Regions from separate parts of the Homo sapiens genome. Here all the other regions are linked to region 2. The links are contacts of gene promoters, found by promoter capture Hi-C in blood cells and fetal thymus (Javierre and others, 2016). All regions are on one chromosome and are shown on one strand. Each heading gives the region's core, a stretch centred on a gene start or on the middle of the fragment in contact. The rest is flanking DNA. Distances are from core to core; before and after follow the strand shown.

Region 1 (4,287 bases), core at 617-3,116, 45 kb before region 2:
GTAGGACCTTTCTACTCTGCTGAGACATTAGTTTTGAAAATAATTGTGCATGTACTATGCTTCAGGGCCTTGAGAGTTAAGAAGGGGAGAACTTGTGTCACTTCCTCAGGGAAGCCTTTCTGGATCCCTCCTGCTACTTTTGAGTTTCATCTTTTCTGAGTTCCCATTGCACTTTCCATTAATTCACTAAATTAATTAATTATTAATTTTTATTAAGATATAATTTATACACCATAGAATTCATTCTTTTAAAATGTACAATTTAGTGGTTTTCAGTATATTCAAAAAGTTATAAAATCATCACCACTATTTAATTTCAGAATGTTTTCAATATCCCCAAAATAAGCCTCATACCTAGTAGCAATCACCTCTCAAACTCCTGTTCTCCCAGCCCCTGGCAACCACTAACTTACTTGCTGTCTCTATACATTTTCCTATTCTGGACAGTTTGTATAAATGAAATAATTCAACATGTGATCTTTTGGGTCTGGCTTGTTTCAATGTTTGTTCATATTGTAGCATGCATCAATACTTCATTTTTATGACTGAATAATATTTCCTCTTATGGATAAATTACATTTTACTTATCCATTCATCAGTTGACTGACATTTAGGTTGTTTCCACATTTTGTCTATTGTAAATAATGTTGCTATGAATACTAGTATATAAGATTTTGTGTAGAAGTATGTTTTCAATTATCTTGGGCATGTACCTGGAAGTAGAATTGCTGAGGACATGATAACTGTATTTTTAACTTTTTGAGGAACTTCCAAATTGTTTTCCAAAATGCTGTACCATTTAACATTCGTACTAGCAATGTATAAAGTTTCCAGTGCCTTTACATCCTTGCCAACACTTGTTATTATTGACCTTTTTGATTTCAGCCATTCTAATAGATATGAAATGACATCTCATTATGGTTTTGATTTGCATTTCTCTAATAACTAACGAAGTTGAGCATTTTTCATGGGCTTATTGGCCACTTGTGTAACTCTTTGGAGAAATATCTATACAAATGCTTTGGCCATTAAAATATTGGTTATTTGTCCTTTTACTATTGAACTATAAGAGTTTTAAAATATATTCTGAATATTAGTGACTTATAAGATATATAATTTACAAATGTTTCCCCCAGTCTGTGGGCTGTATTTTCATGTTCTTGTGCATTTTTTGAAGCACAAATGTTCTTAATTTTGGAAAAGTCCAGTTTAGCCATTTTTATTATTGTTTGGCTTGTGCTTTTGCTACTGTATGTAAGCAACCACTGACTAATCCAAGGCTGTTAATATTTATGCCTGTGTTTTCTTCTAGATTTTCATAAATTTAGCCTCAGTTTTCTCACATAGGCAATGCAGATAATAAAACTTAAGATCATAATATTGTAATCTTAGTATTGTTCAGAGGCTTGGATATGTTGACACATGGAAAGCCCATAATAAAGGGTTAGACTCTGCTGTTTCATAATTACGAGTGTTTATTCTTCTTACCTTCCTAACTTCAAGGAGTCCTTTAATCACTTCCTGTTTAACTTGAGAAGAGTTGGCAAATACACCTGCTAACAGCAACTGATAAACAATGTTATCTGTAGCTTTCTAATGCTTGAGCTTCCACAAAGGCCTTCTTTAAACCCAGGTAGGCTGAACAACAAGGTACTCTATCCATTGGGCTCATGCACTAACATCACTGTGAACAGAGAACAACACCTGCTGTCTGTGGCACTGGCCAGGGGTGAAGAGAGGGACTATGAGGCCATTTTCCTGGAGTGGTTGGGGCATTAGAACTGGGGGAAGGCAGGCAATCTCAGAACTTACCTAAAAAGAGATGCAACCCACAGACTCCTAGAAAGCAAAGCAGAGTGGATTGCAGATTTCTAAGGTGGTAGTCATGGGGGAGGAGGCTTATCCCCATTCACCATCTTAAACATTTGGTAGGAGAAGTTATGCTGGGATTTCTTTAATTTATTTATATTTCCTCGTGTGTGTGTGTGTGTTTTTTTCTCAAAGAAAATGCTTCAGGTTTTTTATTTTTTTTGTGGGGGCGGTGGTGGGGGGAGATGAAGTCTTGCTCTGTCATCCAGGCTGTAGTGCAGTGGCACAATCTCAGCTCACTGCAACCTCCACCTCCCAGGTTCAAGCGATTCTCCTGCCTCAGCCTCCCAAGTAGCTGGGATTACAGGCACACGCCACCATTCCTGGCTAATTTTTGTATTTTTAATGGATATGGTTTTTATCATGTTGGCTAGGCTGGTCTTGAACTCCTGACCTCAAGTGATCTGCCTGGCTCGGCTTCCCAAAGTGCTGGGATTACAGGTGTGAGCCACAATGCCCAGCTGAAGCATAAGTCACCTACTTCCAGCAGGAATTTAACCAGTGACCTAAGGATTGCTTCAGTTTTTTAAAAAAAGTTTGAAAACGACTGATGTAATCCAACCCATCATAAATGAAAATGCAGCCCACAAAAATTCAGTGATTCACCCAAAGTCACACAGGAAGGGAACAGCAAAGCTGGAACTCCAAAGTGGGTGTCTGTTCTGACCAGGAGACCAAGATTCTTTCTATGTCACCTGCTGCCTCCCTGTTAAGTCACCTTCCACAGCATCTGAAAAATTCTTAGCATGTGCTGACTTGAGTCATAGAATATCTTTGGTTGTAGATATATTGTCCCCATGAATAGATTTATCTGATCATAGATGTTTGGATCTGCAGGGCGTGGGGACTAGATTTAGGATCAAGAGGATGGATTCCAAACTCAGGTTCTGGTGGATTTGGGGTGCCACTTAACCTGTGCACATCTCAGCTTTTTCATCTGAAAAATGGGATTCTAAATTCTCTTCCTGCTACCTTTCTTTCATTGTTCTGAGGATCGCTCAAACAAAAGACATGAAAGAGATGTGTAATTGTAATGTATTCATTTAGATCTTCATTTATTCCTTTAGTAGCAGAATATTGGTGCTCATGGCTTTATTTGGTTTAGAGAATCACTAGTTCTAACCTTCTCATCACAGGGTTTTTCTTCTGATTCCCGAGCTGGCAGGGAGAGGCTGTGCTAAGTGGCTGAAAGTTTGTCACTCTGTCCCACACCTGCCATGTGACTACATGATGCCATGTGACTACACCCAGGACAACTCCCTTCAGCTCTTGCTCATATTTCCAGATGCTCACTAGACCTAAATGCTCACTAGATCCAAATACCTGAGTATCTAAGAGGCATCTGTATTTATTCTCCCCCAAGCCTGGTTTGTCTTCCTCATCTTGGTATATGGCACCTCCAAAACCCTAGGTACCATCCTTATGTACTCCCATGTCCTCGATTCTCACCTCATTTACAAATGGAAATGGAAATTTTCTCTACAGCATCCATTCTGCCCTCTCCCACTACTCAGCAACTATGTCATTTGTGTAGGTCTGACTACACCCGTACCTTTATTGGTACAAGCAAATTAAAATAATTTCACCCTCTTACCTATGGTGATGGTTTCCAATAAATCCCATCTAAGCTAAGCTAATCAGTCCATTGGCAGCTGGGGATTAATGGGAGTATTAAGCCAACTATCATTTTAATTCTCCTGGAAACAGGGATTTGTTTAGAAGTGGTCGAATCAAGCCCCAACTCAAGATTTTTATTTTATGGTTATTGGGAATGATGCTTGCTTCCTCCTATATGTGAACAGAACTAACTCACAATCATGTACGTATATTGTTCTAGGAGCCATCTTGGAGTTATTAATAAAGTTAGCGTAAGAATAAATGGACACATAGAGAGTGGGAGAGAGAAAGGGCAGACCTGAGAATCACAGAAAAATAAACCTGGAGACCTGATCAAACCTTGCATGAAGCTTCCACTCTTCCACTTTTCATTTGTGGGAATCTGTAAGTTGCACTTATTTTTCAGACTGTTAATATTTACATTTTCTGTTACCTGAAATCAAAAGCACCCAAACTGATAAACTTACTTAAACCACTAGCAAGTCATGTAACATCTGTTTCTAAAACTGTGTAACAAATCTGTCCATATCTCACTGTTATCGTCACCACCACCTAGTTCAAGGCAGCAGCATCTTTGGTCTGGACTATTGTAACAATCCCTACTTCAATTTTCAGCCTCTACTGTTCAATGTAGCCCCCAAACAGCAGCCAGAGACATCAGTTAAAAATGGAAACCAGATCTGGTTACTTTCTTGATGAAAACCTTTCAAAGATTTTCATTTGCTCTTAAAATAAAACTCACTGTTCCCCTTCCCCATCCCAGCCAGCCCTACTGGATGGACATGTCCCCTGCGTCTCCCG
Region 2 (3,662 bases), core at 512-3,011:
ATCCTTTGGGGTAAGGGGAGAGAAAGGAATCCACTAGTGGTTTGGAATAGTCATGAATTAAATCACATATTTCCATGAAACAAGCCTGACAAAGCCTTAGCAAAGCTGGTAGGGGACTCTGGAGTGATAATTGCTCATCAGAGTTTTCCCCCATCAGGGCAAACTGGCCAGGCCCTCACCACCCTCAGTCACTGAATGTGGGATGTGGCTGCTTTGGGAAGGACGTGACCTCATGCAAGCACTCCTTGCAGCTGAGCATCCACTTATACCTTGAAGGGGGATCTAGGAAGCACATAGCCATATGTATGACAAACTTTGTGCCGATAGCTCTCTCTTTGTTTTGGATTTTTACCTTTAGACAAACACAGTGGTCCCCCCAGGTTTTAGAGTTAGACTGTTTGGAAACTCCTGCAAATATTTCTGGCTTGGATGGAAAGCCTGGAGTGTAATCAGCTTAGCTGGTGACCCATTTCCCCCCTCACTGGTTAGCTAAGCGGATTTTCTTTCCTGAGGCCTTTTGTAGGGTACAATGTATATCATGAGTCTTAAAGGAACTCATGGAATTTCAATATTCAACTGGAAGTGCCCTAGTTAATAGAGATGTAGACTTTTCGGATCTTAAAGAGTTTGTCAGTGGGAGGAGGATTAATGGGCACCAACTGTGTGCTAGGTGTTGTATTTAACATAATCTCAAACTTTTCTAAAAATATGGCTGGATGCAATGGCTTGCACCTGTAATCCCAGTTACTTGGGAGGCTGAGAAGTTTGAGACCAGCCTGGGCAACAGAGTGAGACCCTGTCTCTGAAAAAATACAAAAATTAAAAAATAATGAGAAATAAATTCCTGGAAACACTATGAGGTATTTGTTAATATTCTCATGATACAGAAAAGACTCACAGAGATTAAATTACATTCCAAAGATCTCAAGATTCAGAAGCACAAACAAGAGAGAAGACTCCTTGGGACAGGGTCTATAATAGGTTTGCCCTTGACCCTGTTCCTTTCATTGGGCAAGAGTATAGCTTAAAGCAAATGACCAGTAAATATTTGTGGAATAAATGAAGAGTGAAAGAGCAAGCATATAAAATTGTATACATCTCTTTTTAAAATGTAGGTTGCCCATTTTGATGAAGTGAAATGCACAGTATTAAGGAAAGGTTGTGAAGTCCAAGAAAACAATCTTTTGGTTTAATCAGAAAATACCATCTTGTATTTGAAACTGGTGACCCAAGCTGCAGAAGCAGCTGTCTTGATGCAGTAGGAGCATGACTACACCACCCGTGGTGTTGGGAAGAGAACAAATGATAGGAATGAACACAGAATTACTTTGTTACTCATCACCTATTTTCACTTTGAGAAAATGATTGGAAATTCTAGGTTTCAGGAATCAACTGCAAATGATGAAGCATTAGATGGATTCTGGCCACATCCCCTGAACAGTGGTGCTCAGAATAGCACTGCCTGCTTGTTTCTCAGACTTCTGTTTAAGACTCTAAGAAATGTAGAATCTGTATGGAATTGGACATCTGACTTGGAGTTTGCTTTTCAGACTCAAGAATTACACAAATGTTGAATTTCCTGACCCTAGTTAAGAGACATTGATCCCCCTTCGTGTGTTCTGACTGAACTTGTGGTCTGGGCTGTAACAGACCTCAGAGCTCCCATGGGCTTTCCTGCTGCTGTGTGACTTACATCATCATGGATTACCAATAATAGGATTTGCCACTCGGAAGCTGGGGCGATACTTATTCAAAACTCACAACGTATTTTCTTACAGAGAAATATGGCTTCAGTTTTTCATTACTTCCTGTTAGTTCTGGTCTTTCTGGATACACACGCAGCTCAGCCTTTCTGTCTGCCAGGATGCACTTGCTCAGAGGAGAGTTTTGGCAGGTGCGCTCTGCTGGCCAGATGTTAGAGGGTTATGGGGAATGGGTTTTCTTTGGGGATGATGTGGAGTGGAAGCAGGCTTAGAATTGGCAGGAAATCAGCAAAACTCTATGAGACTCATTCTAGTTGGGACTGAACTTTGCTGAACTGTGCATTTTTACCAAAATGAGTCTAACTCTTTTATTTCAATGAATAATAATATTTTTATTCTGATTCACATGTCTAATGCCAGGATCAGCCTGACCCCACTTTTCAGTCCCCTGTTGTTTATCTTAAAGCTGTTCTGGTTTCTTGTACAGGACTCTGCAGTGCACATCTGTCTCCTTGGGAAAGATCCCTGGGAACCTTTCTGAAGAGTTCAAGCAAGTGAGAATTGAAAATTCACCCTTATTTGAGATGCCCCAAGGGTCTTTCATCAACATGAGCACCTTGGAATACCTCTGGCTCAATTTTAACAATATCAGTGTGATCCACCTAGGAGCCCTGGAACACCTGCCAGAACTGAGGGAGCTGAGACTGGAGGGGAACAAGCTCTGCTCAGTACCATGGACAGCGTTCCGTGCCACCCCTCTCCTGAGGGTCTTGGATCTCAAACGCAACAAGATTGATGCACTCCCTGAGCTGGCTCTTCAATTCTTGGTCAGCCTGACCTACCTTGACCTATCCTCCAATAGGCTTACAGTTGTATCCAAGAGTGTCTTCCTGAACTGGCCAGCCTACCAGAAATGCCGGCAGCCTGACTGTGGGGCTGAGATTCTCTCCAGCCTGGTGGTGGCCCTGCATGACAACCCCTGGGTATGTGACTGTCGCCTAAGGGGGCTTGTCCAGTTTGTCAAGTCCATTACCCTCCCAGTCATCCTGGTGAATTCCTACCTGATATGTCAGGGCCCTCTGTCCAAGGCAGGGCAGCTTTTTCATGAAACTGAGCTTAGTGCTTGCATGAAGCCACAGATCTCAACCCCCAGTGCCAATATCACCATCCGGGCAGGACAGAATGTGACCCTGCGATGCTTGGCACAGGCCAGCCCCTCACCATCCATTGCATGGACTTATCCCCTGAGTATGTGGAGAGAATTTGATGGTAAGCCACATGCACCCTCTCAGTGTATCTGGAGGGAATGGAGAGGTCTGTAGCAAACCCATCCTCATTAGAGAGATTCAAAGCTGGGTCAGTCACGAAGGGTGGGTGCAAGTAAGATTGGGATAGCCCTGAATTATGCTCACTAGAACAGAAAAGATTTCAAGGTAGTGTTCCACTATTGGCATTATTTTAAATGTTTGCATACAGATCTCTTTGCATACAGAACATATACACATATATAAACACATATTTCAGGGCTAATTTAATATCTTATGCAAATATTATAAAATTTTATATGAGCAGATATAGTCTTTGGGAATCTTCTAGATGCAAAACACTGGACTATGTATTTTAGAATTCTAGAATTTTTTACTAGGATTGATTTTAGAGATGATCTATTAGTTATTTCCTTAACTTGCCTGAGCAGAATCACCTGGGGTGCTTGTTTGAAATAACACTGACATAAAATTGTTCAGACCTTATTGGCTTGAATTTGTAATACTGGGACCCAGGGAAAGGAAGTGACCTCTGTGGGCCCTGGGGCTGGAATTCAAACCTGCCTCTTCCTTCCTGGAACCCTCTGCTCTGTTTTCATACCTCAGCTGGGATTACCTTTAATGCTACTCTGTAGGGTTGGGCATATCACAAAGCCGGGGATGGCCTCCCTGGGGGTATCCCAAAGCTGAAAAG
Region 3 (4,161 bases), core at 1-2,500, 53 kb after region 2:
GAATGTCTTTGAGTCGGCTTCCCATCTGTGAAATGGGCACAGGACTATCTCTCTCACAAGCCTGTATTGAGGCATGTATGAGAAGCCATCTGCACCAAGGTGCTCACACAGCTCTTAAAGGAGGTGGGGCCACAGGTGGACTTTGATGTTTAAGACAGTGATGAAATGAGAAGACACTTCAAGTACAGGGTCACCCTGAACAAGGCCTGGAAGAGAGGAGCCTCTGCCCAGGGCAGGCATGGGGGAAAGTCTGACCACAGGTGCAGGAGGCTCAGATGCCACCCATTCACTGGACACGTGACCTGGGCTGAGCCATGCGCTTGGCTCCAGGGACACAGAAGACACTGTGCCTCGCCTCAAGGAGCTCCTGTTGGTGGAGGAAGCTGTGCAGACAAGTGACTGTCTCACAGCATTGTAAGTGCTGTCTATACTGAAGGAAGGGGACGTAGGTTGCTCAGTCAGAAGGTGGGGGAGGGAGGGGACACTCTGCAGAGATGGAATAAGATTGGGTCGGAGATGGCCTGGCATGGTAGGCCAGGTCATGGTGGGCTTCCTGGACCAGCAGAGGAATCAGACTGGCAAAAGGGAGGCCGGGGGATCCTTCAGCCGGGTAGAGACTGATGACAGGAATGCTTTGGGCTCCTTTTCCATCAGAGTGGGTCTGAGTTCCCTTTAATAATGGTGCATGGGTGCCTGAACACTTGCTAGGCTCTGGCCTCAGATGGTGTCAGAGGGTTCAGAGCCCCTGGGCCTATGAGAGGTGGTGGGTAGGAGGAATATTTTTCGGAAGAAATTAGGATGTTTCCCATGCACCCTGATGAGCCTCTGCCTGGGCTGCTCTCAAACCTCCACTCCCAAACTGAGGGAAGAGAGATACCCTCTCATATTGTTTTATATTGTTTTATACTCAGTACCTCTTTTAAGAAAAAACAAGGAAGTAAAACCAAAGACAGGCAGCCCGGCGCCAGGCCTGAAACCAGGCCTGGGCCTGCCTGGACTAAACCCAGTAGTTAAAAATCAACTCATAACTTAAAAACCAATGTTATTCATAGATTCCAGACATTGTATAGAAGAACATTGTGAAACTCCCTGCCCTGTTCTGTTTCTCTCTGACCACCGGTGCATGCAGCCCCTGTCACGTACCGCCTGCTTGCTCAAATCAATCACGACCCTTTCATGTGAAATCTTTAGTGTTGTGAGCCCTTAAAAGGAACAGAAATTGTGTATTCAGGGAGCTCAGATTTGAAGGCAGTAGCTTGCCGATGCTCCCAGCTGAATAAAGCCCTGCCTTCTACAACTCAGTGTCTGAGAGGTTTTGTCTGCGGCTCACCCTGCTACATTTCTTGGTTCCCTGACTGGGAAACGAGGTGACTGACGGATGGCCGAGGCAGCCCCTTAGGCGGCTTAGGCCTGCCCTGTGGAGCATCCGTGAGGGGAACTCCGGCCAGCCTGAGTGACGTGATCCAAAGAGCGCTCCCGGGTAGGCAATTGCCCCAATGGAACGCCTTGCCAGAGCAGCGTGTAGCAGGCCCCCACGGAAGATTAACACAGTGGCTGAACACCAGGAAGGAACTGGCACTTGGAGTCCGGACATCTACAACTTGGTAAGACTAGTCTTTGGAACTTGCCCCACTCCATCTGAGTGGAAGCGTGGCCTGATCACCCACAGTGTGCCTGTATTGGCATTTTGTTCTGGTTTTGACTTGGCTTGAGTTGGTAAGACTAGTCTTTGGAACTTGCCCTACTCCATCTGGGTGGAAACATGGCCTGATCACCCACGGCATGCCTGCATTGACACTTTTGTTCTGGTTTTGACTTGACTTAGATTGTGTGATACTTTGGTTTTAGTTTTGACCTGGCTTGGATTTCTGGATACTCTGATTTTGGTTTGGTGTAAACTGCAAAAGTGTGTGTGTGCCCTTTTTACCTGTTTTTTGTTTTGTGGTGTGTGTGTGGTGTGAACATGGTGTTTTGTCTTGAAGAAGCATGGGTCAGGCAAAAATAAGCCCACCCCACTAGGAACTATGTTAAAAAAAATAAAAATTTCAAGAAAGAATTTAAGGGAGATTACGATGTTACTGTGACACCAGGAAAACTTAGAACTTTGTGTGAAATAGACTGGCCAGCATTAGAGTGGGTTGGTCATCAGAAAGAAGCCTGGACAGGTCCCTTGTTTCAACGGTATGACACAGGGCAACCTGTAAGCCAAGGCACCCAGACCAGTTTCCATACATAGACAGTTACAGCTGGTTTTAGACCCCCTTCCCCTCCACAGTAGTTAAAAGAACAGCAGCATAAGCAGTTGGGAGAGGCAAGGAAAGACCAGCAGAGAAAAAAAAAAAAGAGGCCATCTATACCAATTCTAAGTTAATTTAGACTAAACAAGGTCTTATTAATAGCAAAGGATAATTGAAATCCCAAACTTACAAGGTTTTCAACAAAAGTGAAGTTTGCTAAAAGTTAACAGCATAACATATATTGTGGTAACTTCTAATCTTGTGGCCTTAGAGAGTCTAGTCCAAAGACATAAAGAAAGTTCGCTTTAAAAAAAGGAATGGTTATCTTCAAAAAAAAAAGCGGGGGGGAGGCAGAATTTATGTAAAAAGAGTGTTATATGGTAAATTCTTGTCCTGAAATAAATTAACTGGTTGTTTAAAGAAAAAAAATGTTTGTAATAAGTCAGAAAGTTGAGGCATGTTGAAGAATTGTCGGCGAAAGTTGTGAAAGAAAAAATGTTATAAAAAAATTTATGCAAAAAAGCCTCCTGAGTACTACTATTGAAGAAACAGTTTATGTGCAAGGTGTATAAAAATAGTAAAATATACCTTTGGTAAAAAGATTATAAGGAGGCATAAGAATGTGGATTTTTACCAACATTAAAAGGTTAAAAAATTATTGTTTTGAAAGTTTAAGCAAGTTTTAAAACTTTAATTGTAAAGAAAATTCTGTGTATAAACATATTAGCTAAAGTTAAAAAGGTATCATCCAGCTTTTCTGTGAACTGGACATTAAAGTAAAAATGCAACAGGTTTTTCTTAAAGCATCAACCTGCTCTTTAACAAAAATTATAAAAGGTTAAAAAGAGTCTATAAAATCTCACCTTATGGTCAAACATGAAAAATTGGATAAATATATCTACAAGGTTTTATTAAAATTAAGTTTAACATTAATAACACACTAATATAAAGGTAAAATTTAGCTTATCTGGTATAAAAATCATACAAGAAGCATTATTAAATATAAAATGGTGTTTAACTTTCTTTGGTCTAAAAACTAATAAAAATAGGTACTAAAGGAAACATTCCTTTTACTAGAGGATCATAGAAGTTAAAGACTTAAAACAAACTTTGGAAATTAAGACAGCATACCAAGATGCAAATGCCTGGTTGAAATGGATCAAATATTCCATCTGCACATTAAACAAAAGCAATTGTTATGCTTGTGCACATGGCAGGCCAGAGGCCCTGATTGTCCCCCTTCCACTAAGGTGGTCCTCCAGTCGACCAGGCGTGGGCTGCATGGTAGCTGTTTTCCAGGATTCTACAGCCTGGAGTAATAAGTCATGCCAAGCTCTCTCTGCTATATCCTGAAGTCCCTGAGGGTCAGCCCCCGAAGGCCATCCAGCTTCTGTCTCCCAACGCTAAGTTCACTTCTTGTCTCTCGTGGCAGGGAGGAGACTTAGCATTCCTTGGAGACCTGAAGGGATGCAGTGAGCTTAAGAATTTTCAAGAGCTTATCAATCAGTCAGCCCTTGTTCATCCCCGAGTGGATGTGTGGTGGTATTGTGGTGGACCTTTACTGGGCACTCTGCTGAATAACTAGAGTGGCACTTGTGCTTTAGTCCATTTGGCTATCCCTTTTACCCTGGCACTTCATCAACCAGAGGAAGAAAAAAATAAAATAAAATAAAAATCATAAAGTGAGAGAAGCCCCTTATAGGTCTTTCAACTCTCACATCTATTTAGATGCAATTGAAGCCCCGCAAGGAATACCAGATCAATTTAAAGCTTGAAATCAAATAGTTACAAGATTTAAATCAATATCTTGGTAGATGACAGTCAATAAAAATGCAGATTAGATAAACTACATCTATTACAACCAACAGCAATGAGCTTTTCATGAATTTAAAAGAAAAAATTGTGTTGGCCCCAGCCCTGAGGC

Evidence for each region. The method cuts DNA at HindIII sites, captures the fragments that hold promoters and counts their contacts. A CHiCAGO score of 5 or more calls a contact.
Region 1: a contact is called between a fragment that was not itself captured here and the fragment with the promoter of LRIT2 in region 2, in 1 of 17 cell types (neutrophils). The highest score is 5.3, in neutrophils.
Region 3: the fragment with the promoter of CERNA2 here is called in contact with the fragment with the promoter of LRIT2 in region 2 in 1 of 17 cell types (neutrophils); the score reaches 5.9 in neutrophils.

What each region holds. Positions count from the first base shown.
Region 1 is chr10:84,268,159-84,272,445 of GRCh38, reverse strand. No RefSeq gene overlaps it. Among named protein-coding and RNA genes, the nearest start is that of LINC00858, 9.7 kb to the left of the region's middle. RefSeq lists an enhancer at 2,031-3,230. The HindIII fragment of the contact is 3,944 bases long and covers 1-3,838 here.
Region 2 is chr10:84,223,643-84,227,304 of GRCh38, reverse strand. It overlaps LRIT2 (leucine rich repeat, Ig-like and transmembrane domains 2), which reads left to right and starts at 1,761. Exons shown (of 3, transcript NM_001017924.5): 1 at 1,761-1,894; 2 at 2,191-2,972. The coding sequence starts at 1,785. The HindIII fragment of the contact is 7,130 bases long and covers 1-3,662 here.
Region 3 is chr10:84,169,165-84,173,325 of GRCh38, reverse strand. CERNA2 (competing endogenous lncRNA 2 for microRNA let-7b) reads left to right here and starts at 1,250. Exons shown (of 2, transcript NR_134505.1): 1 at 1,250-1,604. RefSeq lists enhancers at 6-55, 876-1,115, 1,466-1,515, 1,430-1,931. The HindIII fragment of the contact is 12,565 bases long and covers 1-4,009 here.